Regions from separate parts of the Homo sapiens genome. Here region 2 is linked to region 1. Evidence: promoter capture Hi-C in 16 types of primary human blood cells and fetal thymus (Javierre and others, 2016). All regions are on one chromosome and are shown on one strand. The core of a region is centred on a gene start or on the middle of the fragment in contact, and the rest is flanking DNA. Distances in the headings are between cores, read along the strand shown.

Region 1 (4,995 bases), core at 1,735-4,234:
AATGTATTAAACAAATCTGCAAAGTAATCTCAAATATAGTATATTAATAACCATCATCATCTCTTTTACAAATTCACTCCTCACATTTCATCTTCATAAAATATAAACATGAAGAGGAATCTTAATAAGAAATTCTACAGAAAACAAATATATACATAATAATCAAACAGGCAATTTCTGTTGAAAAAATAGAGAACACCATAAAAGCACAAAATTTTGTTTTTAAAATTAGCTTGCTCACCTCTCATTTATTCCAGTAAAATAAATGGAACTACTTGCTAATGTTATTTACTTCAGGATGATTATTACTAAGAAAAATCGAACTACATACAATATTTGGCAAATATTTATTCAGCCACTATTATAAATCAGGCATTGAACAAGGGGACTTAGAAGACAGGGGTAATCCAACTTGTGTTCAAATTCTTTGACAGTTATCCAAATTGAGATGTTTACCTATGTCCTTTATATTAGGCTATGATCCAGAGCAGTAAGATCCAACAGAAATGTTAACATAAGCAACATATACATTGAAATTCTCTAGTAATCTCATTTTTTAAAAAGTAAAAAAAAGTTAATTCTAATATATTATTTAACCTAGCATATGCAAAAGTTATCATTTCAACATGTAATCATACTTTTAAAAGACTGATAAGATGCTGACTTTTTTGCATAATAAATCTTTTTTCAAAGCCCACTATGTATTAAACATACACTTACAGCATCTTAATTCAGACTAGCCACATTTCAAGTGCTCAACAGCCACGTGTAGCTCGTTGTTACCCTACTGGACAGGACAAATCTAGATGGTGCTTATTAAAGAAGAAAATACACTCTGGGTTATGCAGCTAAATTTTAATAATGCTTTATTAAGAAAATTCAATTATCTGTTCTACTTGGAAATCAATACATTCTCCTTTCTCTGAACTCTTCTCTTTAAACAAATCATTCCAGAGAGTATATATACAAAAGCTGCTAAGAAAAGGAAAGACTAAGAATGATGAATTAAATTGAACACTCCTTCTTCGAATTACACGTTTTCACTGTTTCTCGTTAAAAGAACGTAAGTTATATACATGCCTTCACAGAAACCAAATACATTTCTTAAAAGCAGACACGGAGGAAAATGAGGGGTCAACTATTATGAATGACCCTCAAGTCTTAGTAGATACTGTGAAATTAGACCAGAATATAATTAAAGCAAATAAATCAGAATCTATGCACCTAAAACAACTCTTTGACTTTTTTCTTTTTTTTTTTTTTTTTTTTTTTTGAGACAGGGTTGCACTGTGTCACTCAGGGAGTGCAGCGATATCGGCTCACTGCAACCTCCGCCTCCCAGGCTCAAGTGATCCTACTGATTCAGCCTCCGAAGTAGCTTGGACTACAGGCGTGCGTCACCGTGCCCGTTTATTTTATTGTAGAAACGGGGTTTCGCCATATTGACCAGGCTGGTCTCGAACTCCAGGGCTCCAAAGATCGGCCAGCTTCGGCCTCCCAAAGTGCTGGGATTACAGGCGTGAGCCACCACACCCAGCCCATCTTTGACTTACAGAGTTGATCTTACTACTTATATTTAAAACATTCAAATTCAGTTAGGAGCTAATAATGGGGAAGAATCTCTAGTTTCATTTAAAGTTACTTTTTTTCCAATCTAGACATGTATTTTCTGTTATAATGTGTAAGTGTAGCTTTTCAGATTCATTCTTTAAAGGATAGTTCATTCTCATGGCAAATATACTTAAAATGTTAACAATTTAAAAAAAAAAACAACTTTGCTTTATCTTACCCTTGGCCCAATTCCAGACTAGAACTATGTGAAGTCAACATTATTTGTGTAACAAACACAAGATCTCTTTATAGGTTAGGCCTCAGTTTCAAAAGCATCAATTTCACTGATTATTTCCTAAGACAGTGCCTGGCACAAGGTATTGTCTTAATAAATATTTTTTGAATGAATGAATATCAAGTAACAGGTACTAATTATTAATACTTCCAGCATTTCAAAATGAAATGTTAAAAAGTGGACCCTTTCAATTAAAAGGTTTTACTAGAGACCGTATAAAAATTGGAAGCTACATTACAGTTAAGAAAACACTATCACTTGTTCTCATTGAATACAATATTTCTAAAGCAGAGTATTATCACTCTCATTTAATATTTAAGAAAGGTGGGGCCAAAATGGTTGAGTCATGTAATTATTAAGTAGTGGAGCCAGATTTCAAGCCCACGTCCTCAAATACAACTGTGTGGAGGTGTGACTTGGAATGGAATGTGCGGATATTATGAAAACTATATTCCATGTCCCCCTCTTTTTAAAAGAATTTCCATTACAAAAGCTTCAGAGGAAAAACACACAATGGATAGTTTTCAATTCCACACACACACACACACACACACACACACACACACTTTTTAACAAATTCAAACCTATTTAAAATATAACAACGGTAAGCATTGTCAATCGCAACAGAAAGTCGACCAGACAACAAGGCTACATCCTCCAATCTCTCCCTCCCGGGACACCCTGGGAATGAAAGCATCCCTTGCGGCCTGGGATAGACTCGTCCAGGCGCGGGGAAAAGGCGGCGCCTCGCCCCTGGGGCGCAGCCATCTCCAACCCCTAGGACGGCCAGGACAGCTGGCTCCAGCCTACCTGACAGGCTCCCGCCACCGCTTGAACCAGCCGCAGCAACTGGCCATCAGACTGAACATCCCGGGTCGCTCCTCCCACCACTTCCCATCCGAGCCCGGAGCGGACACCGGCACCCCGCTCTTCCCCGGGGGCCTCCGGCACTCCGAGACGCCCCTAAAGTGGATAAGTCGGGAGGAAAAGCCGGGAGGGAAGTGAAGGCGGCCGGCCCGAGCACTAAGCCTTGCTAACCGCGTGGGTCCGCGACGACTGCCCTCTTAGCCAAGGAACAACCTGACCAAAGACGCAGATACACCGTAGCCGAGTTAGCGGGACCCGGCTAAAGAAAAGCCCCGCGTCGACGTGCTGACGTTACTTCGAGGCGCGGAAGGCGTTCCCCAGGCAACGCCCGTACTGCGCTCGCCCAATCATCGGTTGAGGTCCTGAGGTAGAGGCCTCTGAGTGGCTGAAGAGTCCTGGCTACCCGCCCCTGCGCGAGACTAGGAAAAGAGAAAGGGGAGTACTCTATAAGAAGGAGGCGGAGCTCGAGGTAGCTCGTTCTCGTAACTAGGCAACCGGAGCGTCCGGAGATAAGCTGGAGGATCCGGGACAAATCTCCAGCAAGGCCTATCTTTATACCTACATAAAATGTGTTGCCAATCCACGGTGCTGTTCCTTTCCTTTCTCCAGTGTCCCCAACTGAGATTCAGAGATCTCAGGTCTTGTGCATGGGTTTTTCTTTTTCTTTCTTTCTTTTTTCTTGTTTTTTGTTTGTTTGTTTTTTGCTCAGGGATGGGGACCCTCTAGAATTCTGGCCGACTTAGGCAGCATGACTACAGGAACAATACACTGGGGCAATTCTTGTAAGTTAAAGACAAGGGGGAAATTCGCTTGCTAAATTTTCTCAGTAGTTCAGATGAGAGTGAAGCCTTAATCTCTAAAACGTTTATTACTGTTACATATGTGAAACGGAATTGTATGATATTTGTTGTAGGGGGGATTGTGATTACAAAAGAAAAATGCATTTCTTGTAGAAAATGTGAAAAATACTAAAAAGAAACAAGATGAAGAAAATGAGATCTCACAGGAGCTCTCAAAGATAACCATTTGGGGCCGGGCGCGGTGGCTCACGCCTGTAATCCCAGCACTTTGTGAGGCCGAGGCGGGCGGATCACGAGGCCAGGTGATCTAGACCATCCTGGCTAACATGGTGAAACCCCGTCTCTAGTAAAAATACAAAAAAAAAAAAACAAAAAAAAACAAAAACGGGTGTGGTGGCACGCGCCTGTAGTCCCAGCTACGCTGGAGACTGAGGCAGGGGAATTGCTTGAACCCGGGAGGCGGAGGTTGCAGTGAGCCGAGATCGCGCCACTGCACTCCAGTCTGGGCAACAGAGCAAGACTCCGTCTCAAAAATAAATAAATAACCATTTTGATGTATGTTTGTTTCAGGATTTTTAGGTACATAAATTGCTGGCTATTTGGTATCTGCAAGATGAAGATTGTTATCTCTTGACTGTTTTGTAATAGTTTATTTTTTAAAGAGGTATGTAATATTTGCATTTCTTTTATATACTTTGGAGAAAAAGAAATGACAAGGACATTCCTGTAGGGAAAAAATTATGCACAATATGTAGGGATCTGTGTGTCCATTCATTTTCTACTTAAATAAATATTTTCAAATCCTGATGAAAGGATAGAAGGCACTGAGAATCCCAGTGTATTCGCGGGGAATATAATGATTTGAGACTAAGATACATATAGGTTTTAAATTAGTCTCTGTCCTTTACTAAATCATGTAACTTTTTTTGGTTTTGTTTTGTTTTGTTTGAGACAGAGTCTCCCTCTATCACCCAGGTTGGAGTACAGTGGCATGATCTCGATTCACTGCAACCTCCGCTTCCTGGGGTCAAGTGATCCTCCTTCCTCAGTCTCCCAAGTAGCTGGGACTAGAGACGTGCACCATCACGCCCAGCTGATTTTTGTATTTTTTGTAGAGACAGGGTTTCATCATGTTGCCCAGGCTGGTCTCAAACTCCTGGCCTCAAATGATCCGCCTGCCTCGGCCTCCCAAAAGTGCTGGGATTATAGACATGAGCCATGGCACCCAGCCTCATGTAATTTTAATTCAAATTTATATACATCTCATACAGCTTGCTATCTCCAAAATACTGTGCCTTATGGGGAACAAAGGGGGTGATACCTTTTCTTCTCATCATAACAGTCACAGCCAACACTCATATAACAAAAAGAATAGCAAGAGAAAAGCATAACAAATTTATTTAATCCAAGTTTTATGTGACATGGGAACCTTGCAAATGGAGATGCAAAGATGCAGGGAAGACTACCCATTTTTATACTTGG
Region 2 (4,995 bases), core at 1,774-4,273, 4.0 Mb before region 1:
GGCTGGAGCACGGCCCGGAGCGTGCCCACGCTGCCCCGCCTCCAGCCGCTGCGCCGCAACGCAGTGGGCTCGCGGCCGCGAGCAACAGGCCGTGCCGGGTGAGTGGGGCGCTCTCGTGGGCATCCCAGCGCCGGGGCAGGCCGGGTAGTGCCCGATCCCGCGGGGCGCGCGCTGCTGCTTTAGGCACCCGGGCTCGGGTGCGGGTCTGGGAGACCTGTCGGTCGGCGAGAAGCCTCGGTGGCCGGCGCTGTGGTTGCGGGACCTGGGACGCGCTCCCAGGCGTCCCACCTCCCCGGAGACTGGGGCAGGGTGGGTGGGGCCCGGATCTAGGGGTAGGGTCGCGGAAGCCTTGGTTACAGAGAGTCGCACACGTGGCCTGCTAATGGTCGCGACACCGGTGACGAGCGCACGGAAAGTTTGGAGGCTTAGCAAGGAGGGTGGTGCCGGCCTCCGCCCGGTGGTGGCAGAACTGCCTGTGCGAGCACGGCTTCCACGTGGGCTGCGCCGCCGGGCGTCATGTCGGGCCTAAGAGACACGCTCTACAGCTGTGAAATCTGAAGTTCAGGTGTGTGGGGAGAAGGGCAGCTGCATTACATCATATGCTTCCAATTCATTTACCAGCAAATAATTCCGCAACGATTGGCCGACAGCTGGGTTGTCCAACAGGTTACTGAGACCAGGTTATTCACTGTTTTCAGGAAGGATAGACTGGGAGGAAGAGGATCTGATTTCGCCACTCATTAGCTGTAAATCTGGTGCCTCGGGTTTCATGTCACTGGGCTCATCTTTGAGCAGAGGAACCTGATTTACTCAGCTTCTTCTGCTGGTACTGGTTTTTGCCTCCTGGACATCAAGCTTTGTAACCTCATGGTCACGAAAATACATTGAGGTATAGTCCGTTTCCTCTCTAAAATCAGACTAAAAAGATAACTGCTGATCACTCCTTTAGGTCAATAGGAGAACCAGTTTTCCCTCTGGATTGATTAACATATCTCTGAGCCAAAAAGAAATGTTTTAGATCAGTCTGGGCAACCTTGTTACAAGCAATATATAATTTCTGACAGCCGTGTGTTTAACTGAGCTGCGTTTGACTGTTGTCCTCCATTAGTGGACCTAAAATTCATCTAGAGAGCGTATTACGTTAATGCAGATTATGGGCCTCAGCCATCAGAAGTGGCAATCCAGTGGGCTTGATGAGGGCCCAGAAATTTGCATGCTAACAACCTTGCTGGTAACTCTGAACTACATTCTGTAAAACTGCCCAGGGGATGTAGAAATTCATACTTCCCTCCCCGATTTAGTAATAACTACTGATGTCTAAAGTGCCTTTTAGCTTTTACGATACTCTTGAATCCTGAAGTGACAGCTGCAATCAGAAAAATAATCCCCTCTGCACAGGCCATCTGTTTTTTCCGTAACTGTTTTGTGTAAGGCCTTTGTGGTTTGTCTCCAAAATTGTATACAGACAAAAGATGAAAATGTGAAAAATTCAGCAGACATTTCTTGAGGACCTCCTATGTACCACACCGTGCTTGTTTCCGGGGATATACAAATCCTTTCCTTCAAGAGCTTCCTCACGTCTTCATGTCCTCAAATATTATAGAAAAGGAGGTTAGGGTACCTTTAAAATATAGTGACTGTCTGTCTGTTGCCTATAGTATGGTTGTCAACATTGATTTTCTTATAGGGTTTATCTGTGGGGTAGTCACCAAAGTATGAACTGTAAATCTTTTAGTCTTTTTACATTTAATGCTTATAGTCAACTCAAATGGAAAACAATTGCTCTTCAAAAACTTTTCTGTGATTTTACAGAAATATTTACTCCTATTGGGGTGGTCTCTAAGGCTTATGGGCAAGGTTGTGTTGGCTGTACTATTCTAGACAAAGCATTGTCTTCTTTAATTACTATAGTATTGGATTCTAAGATATGTGTTTTACTTCTTGCTGTTTCCGAAATTATGATATGTACCTTAAGACTTTTGTATGTTTAATGTGGTAGGATGCTTCATCTATTCTCCCCTCTGCTCTAGAAAGCTGTTAAGAGGAATGGTTGTCTTACAGTATGAGTAGTGTGAGAATCAGAGAAATAATGTATTTGCCCAGAAACCTCTAAGCTTAGGCTCCAATTAACTGAGCCTCAAATCATTTCAACATGAACACAGAGAAACAAATGATGTAACTTTTGGCAGTATGGGTAGTGAAATTTATATTCTAAGGAAAGCATTTGTTATACAGTATTGGGGTTTGTTAGTGATTGTAGATGGGAAAGATTCTTTTAAGTGATTTTATTTTGGCTTAAGTGTTTTGCATTCTTTGATTAGCCACACTTTCTGGTGAATGTGCTTATACTGTATTCATATATTATGCTTAAAGAAAAGCTTTTCGTTTGCATCTTCCTCCTGCTCTCTCCCCTTAAATGAATTTTAAACTGACCAATTGTGAGAGATAAGAGATGTGTGGCTGAATATAAAATGACTCTATAGGGTGCCTTTAGTAATACAAACCTAATAAACCAATCTAAGTTTTTAAAAATTAAACGTGAGCAATGTGCTGTGGTCCCCAAGGCCATCTTTAGTTCAGCAATTTGCTAGGAGGACTCGGCTGATTTATTACAGGGAAAAGATATCAAGCACAGTCAGCAAAGGGAAGAGGCACATGGGTGAAGTTCTGGGGATACCAAGTGCAAGGCTCCAAGGGTCTTCGAGCGGTCACACTGGCTGTGCTCAGTTGCTCCAGCAACTAGTTGTGTCAACACTTGTGAAATGTTGCCAACCTGCGAAGCTTGTTAGAGACTCAGTGCCCAGGGCTTTTACTGGGGGCTTTTCACTTAGGCCACCCCTGCCTGGCACATACCAACGTTTCCAGACTCCCAGAGGAAAGCAGGTGTTGGTATAAACTGTAATGATTGTACATTTTAGGCATGGTGAGCCACTCCTATCAGTTAATGGTGGTGGAAACTCTCCCAAAATCTTAAGTTCTCAGACATCGGCCACAAGCTGCACTTTCAAAGGATAGCAGTCAGGCCTGCTATGGAACGTCTTCTGCATAAGCAGTACCCCTTCCCGAATCCATTTTTCTATCTCTTTGTATTTCTCCATCACTTGAGAGTTCCATGTACTAGCAATGCTGTGCCTTCCTGAAGCCTTAATTCTTTCCTGGAGAATTCAAGCTGGTCTGTTTCACTTAAAGGAAACATTTTCAGAAAATGTGTCTTACTGACCACATATCCTAAACACTAAAGTTTATTTTTTTTTTCTAAGCTTCAAGCTTTACCCCTCTCCTGTAGTATCAGTTTGTGTTAGTCTTCCACCATGTCCTGTGTTTCCTTATCAAAAGCACCTGGTCTTTTGAAGGAATGGAGCTGTTTAGAGGGTTTTATATTTTGACATTTCCTTTCTTAATTTGTTCAGTTTACATCTGGGTTTCAATCTAAAGTTTCTTTTATAAGTTGCAACACGTCACACAGTATGCAACACATCGTTCCAGGATGCTTACTTCCCAGGCCAGAACATTAATTCCACTTAGTCTACAGTGTAGCTGAAATACTGCTTAGTTATAATGACAAAAGAACAGAAAACAGTATTCTTGCAATTCTGATAACTCACCAAAGTAGGAAACTATACCATTTATAAATAACAAGTCTTTCAGAAATTTTGGTTTTTATAAGTACAGTGGTTCTTAACCTTGTCAGGAGATAGGGACTTCCTTAAGAATCTGTTGAAAGTGATGGAGTCCCTTCCCAGAGGGAAAGGACTTTAAGATAGAATTTTGCAGTCTCAGGAAATTTAAATAATTTGAATTACAGTTCTTGGAAACAGATGAGGGAAACCTACCCTCTAAGTATCAATAGTTGTGGTTTGGAGGCAGTTCTGAAGGAGCTTTGCAAGGCTTGGCTGTGTGGCTTCGACTACTCAGCAGTGTCAGCAGCAGAAGCATCACCTGGGAGCCTGTTAGAAATGCAGAACCTCAGGCTTCACCTTGGAGCTAGTGGATCATATCCTGCATTTTATTGAGATGCTAAGGTGATCTGTGTGCACATTAAAGTTGGAGAAGTGCTGTGTTAGGGGCTAATGATATTGGTATTATTTAAAATCTTCAGTTAAAAAGTTATAGTTTTTTCAAGGCTTTAGATATAACTACTTTTAGCCTTCACTTTTCAGCCTTTAGGGGCTTTATTTCTTTAAACGAAGGGGAGTTTCTGATAAAAGTGGCCGTTTTCAGGAATAAGCTCAGAGTTGGAAGTGAGCAGGTTCAGGTGGTTAGTGGAGACAGGAGAAGGCAGTGGCCTGCTCCAGCCACCAGGAGACACCGCGGGTCCAGGGCGCATTGATTGACCTGCGCAACAGTTGGGGTGGTGCTGCGGTGAGGAGCACCTGGCAGTGGGCGGCTGTTAGTTTTTCTCTAGTCAAATGTTTGTAACTCAGAGTACATCTAATTAGATGTGGGCCCTGATGCTGATGGGAGCCAAATCCAAGATATTTGACTTTGCTGTGTCAGTGGCCACAGGCTAAACCTGTGAGTAGGAACTGCTGAGACAGTTGAATAGGTTTATTTGGGATAATTATACTGCCTAATAAATAATACCATGACATAGTGCTTGTGTAAAAGAAAAACACGTTCTTCTTTAGATGAATATGTCATCTGAGTGGTGGTTGAGCTTGAATCATATCTTAGAAGAAATGGCATTGGCTTAAGGCTGTCTCCTATCCTGGGGGAAGTAGCTTTGACCTATGAAGAGTTCTCACGAAGGTGTAATGGTCATTCAGTTGTGTGTGCGCGCGATCCACTAACACCAATGCTGGCACTCCTTGTAAACCTAACCATGTGTGTTTTGTTCTTTTGGTAGGTTTGCATTTCCTTACTGCTTTGTCTTGAAGACAGAACGATGCCAAAGAAAGCAAAGCCTACAGGGAGTGGGAAGGAAGAGGGGCCGGCTCCCTGTAAGCAGATGAAGTTAGAAGCAGCTGGGGGGCCTTCAGCTTTAAACTTTGACAG

Evidence for each region. The method cuts DNA at HindIII sites, captures the fragments that hold promoters and counts their contacts. A CHiCAGO score of 5 or more calls a contact.
Region 2: a fragment that was not itself captured here is called in contact with the fragment with the promoter of ARL13B in region 1 in 1 of 17 cell types (total B cells); the score reaches 9.2 in total B cells.

The regions. Positions count from the first base shown.
Region 1 is chr3:93,978,144-93,983,138 of GRCh38, reverse strand. It overlaps ARL13B (ARF like GTPase 13B), which reads right to left and starts at 2,984. Exons shown (of 10, transcript NM_001174150.2): 1 at 2,657-2,984. The coding sequence starts at 2,715. RefSeq lists enhancers at 2,817-2,946, 3,217-3,376. The HindIII fragment of the contact is 5,745 bases long and covers 2,342-4,995 here.
Region 2 is chr3:97,967,484-97,972,478 of GRCh38, reverse strand. RIOX2 (ribosomal oxygenase 2) reads left to right here and starts at 48. Exons shown (of 10, transcript NM_153182.4): 1 at 48-98; 2 at 4,847-4,995. The coding sequence starts at 4,886. RefSeq lists a silencer at 1-303 and an enhancer at 574-833. The HindIII fragment of the contact is 479 bases long and covers 2,784-3,262 here.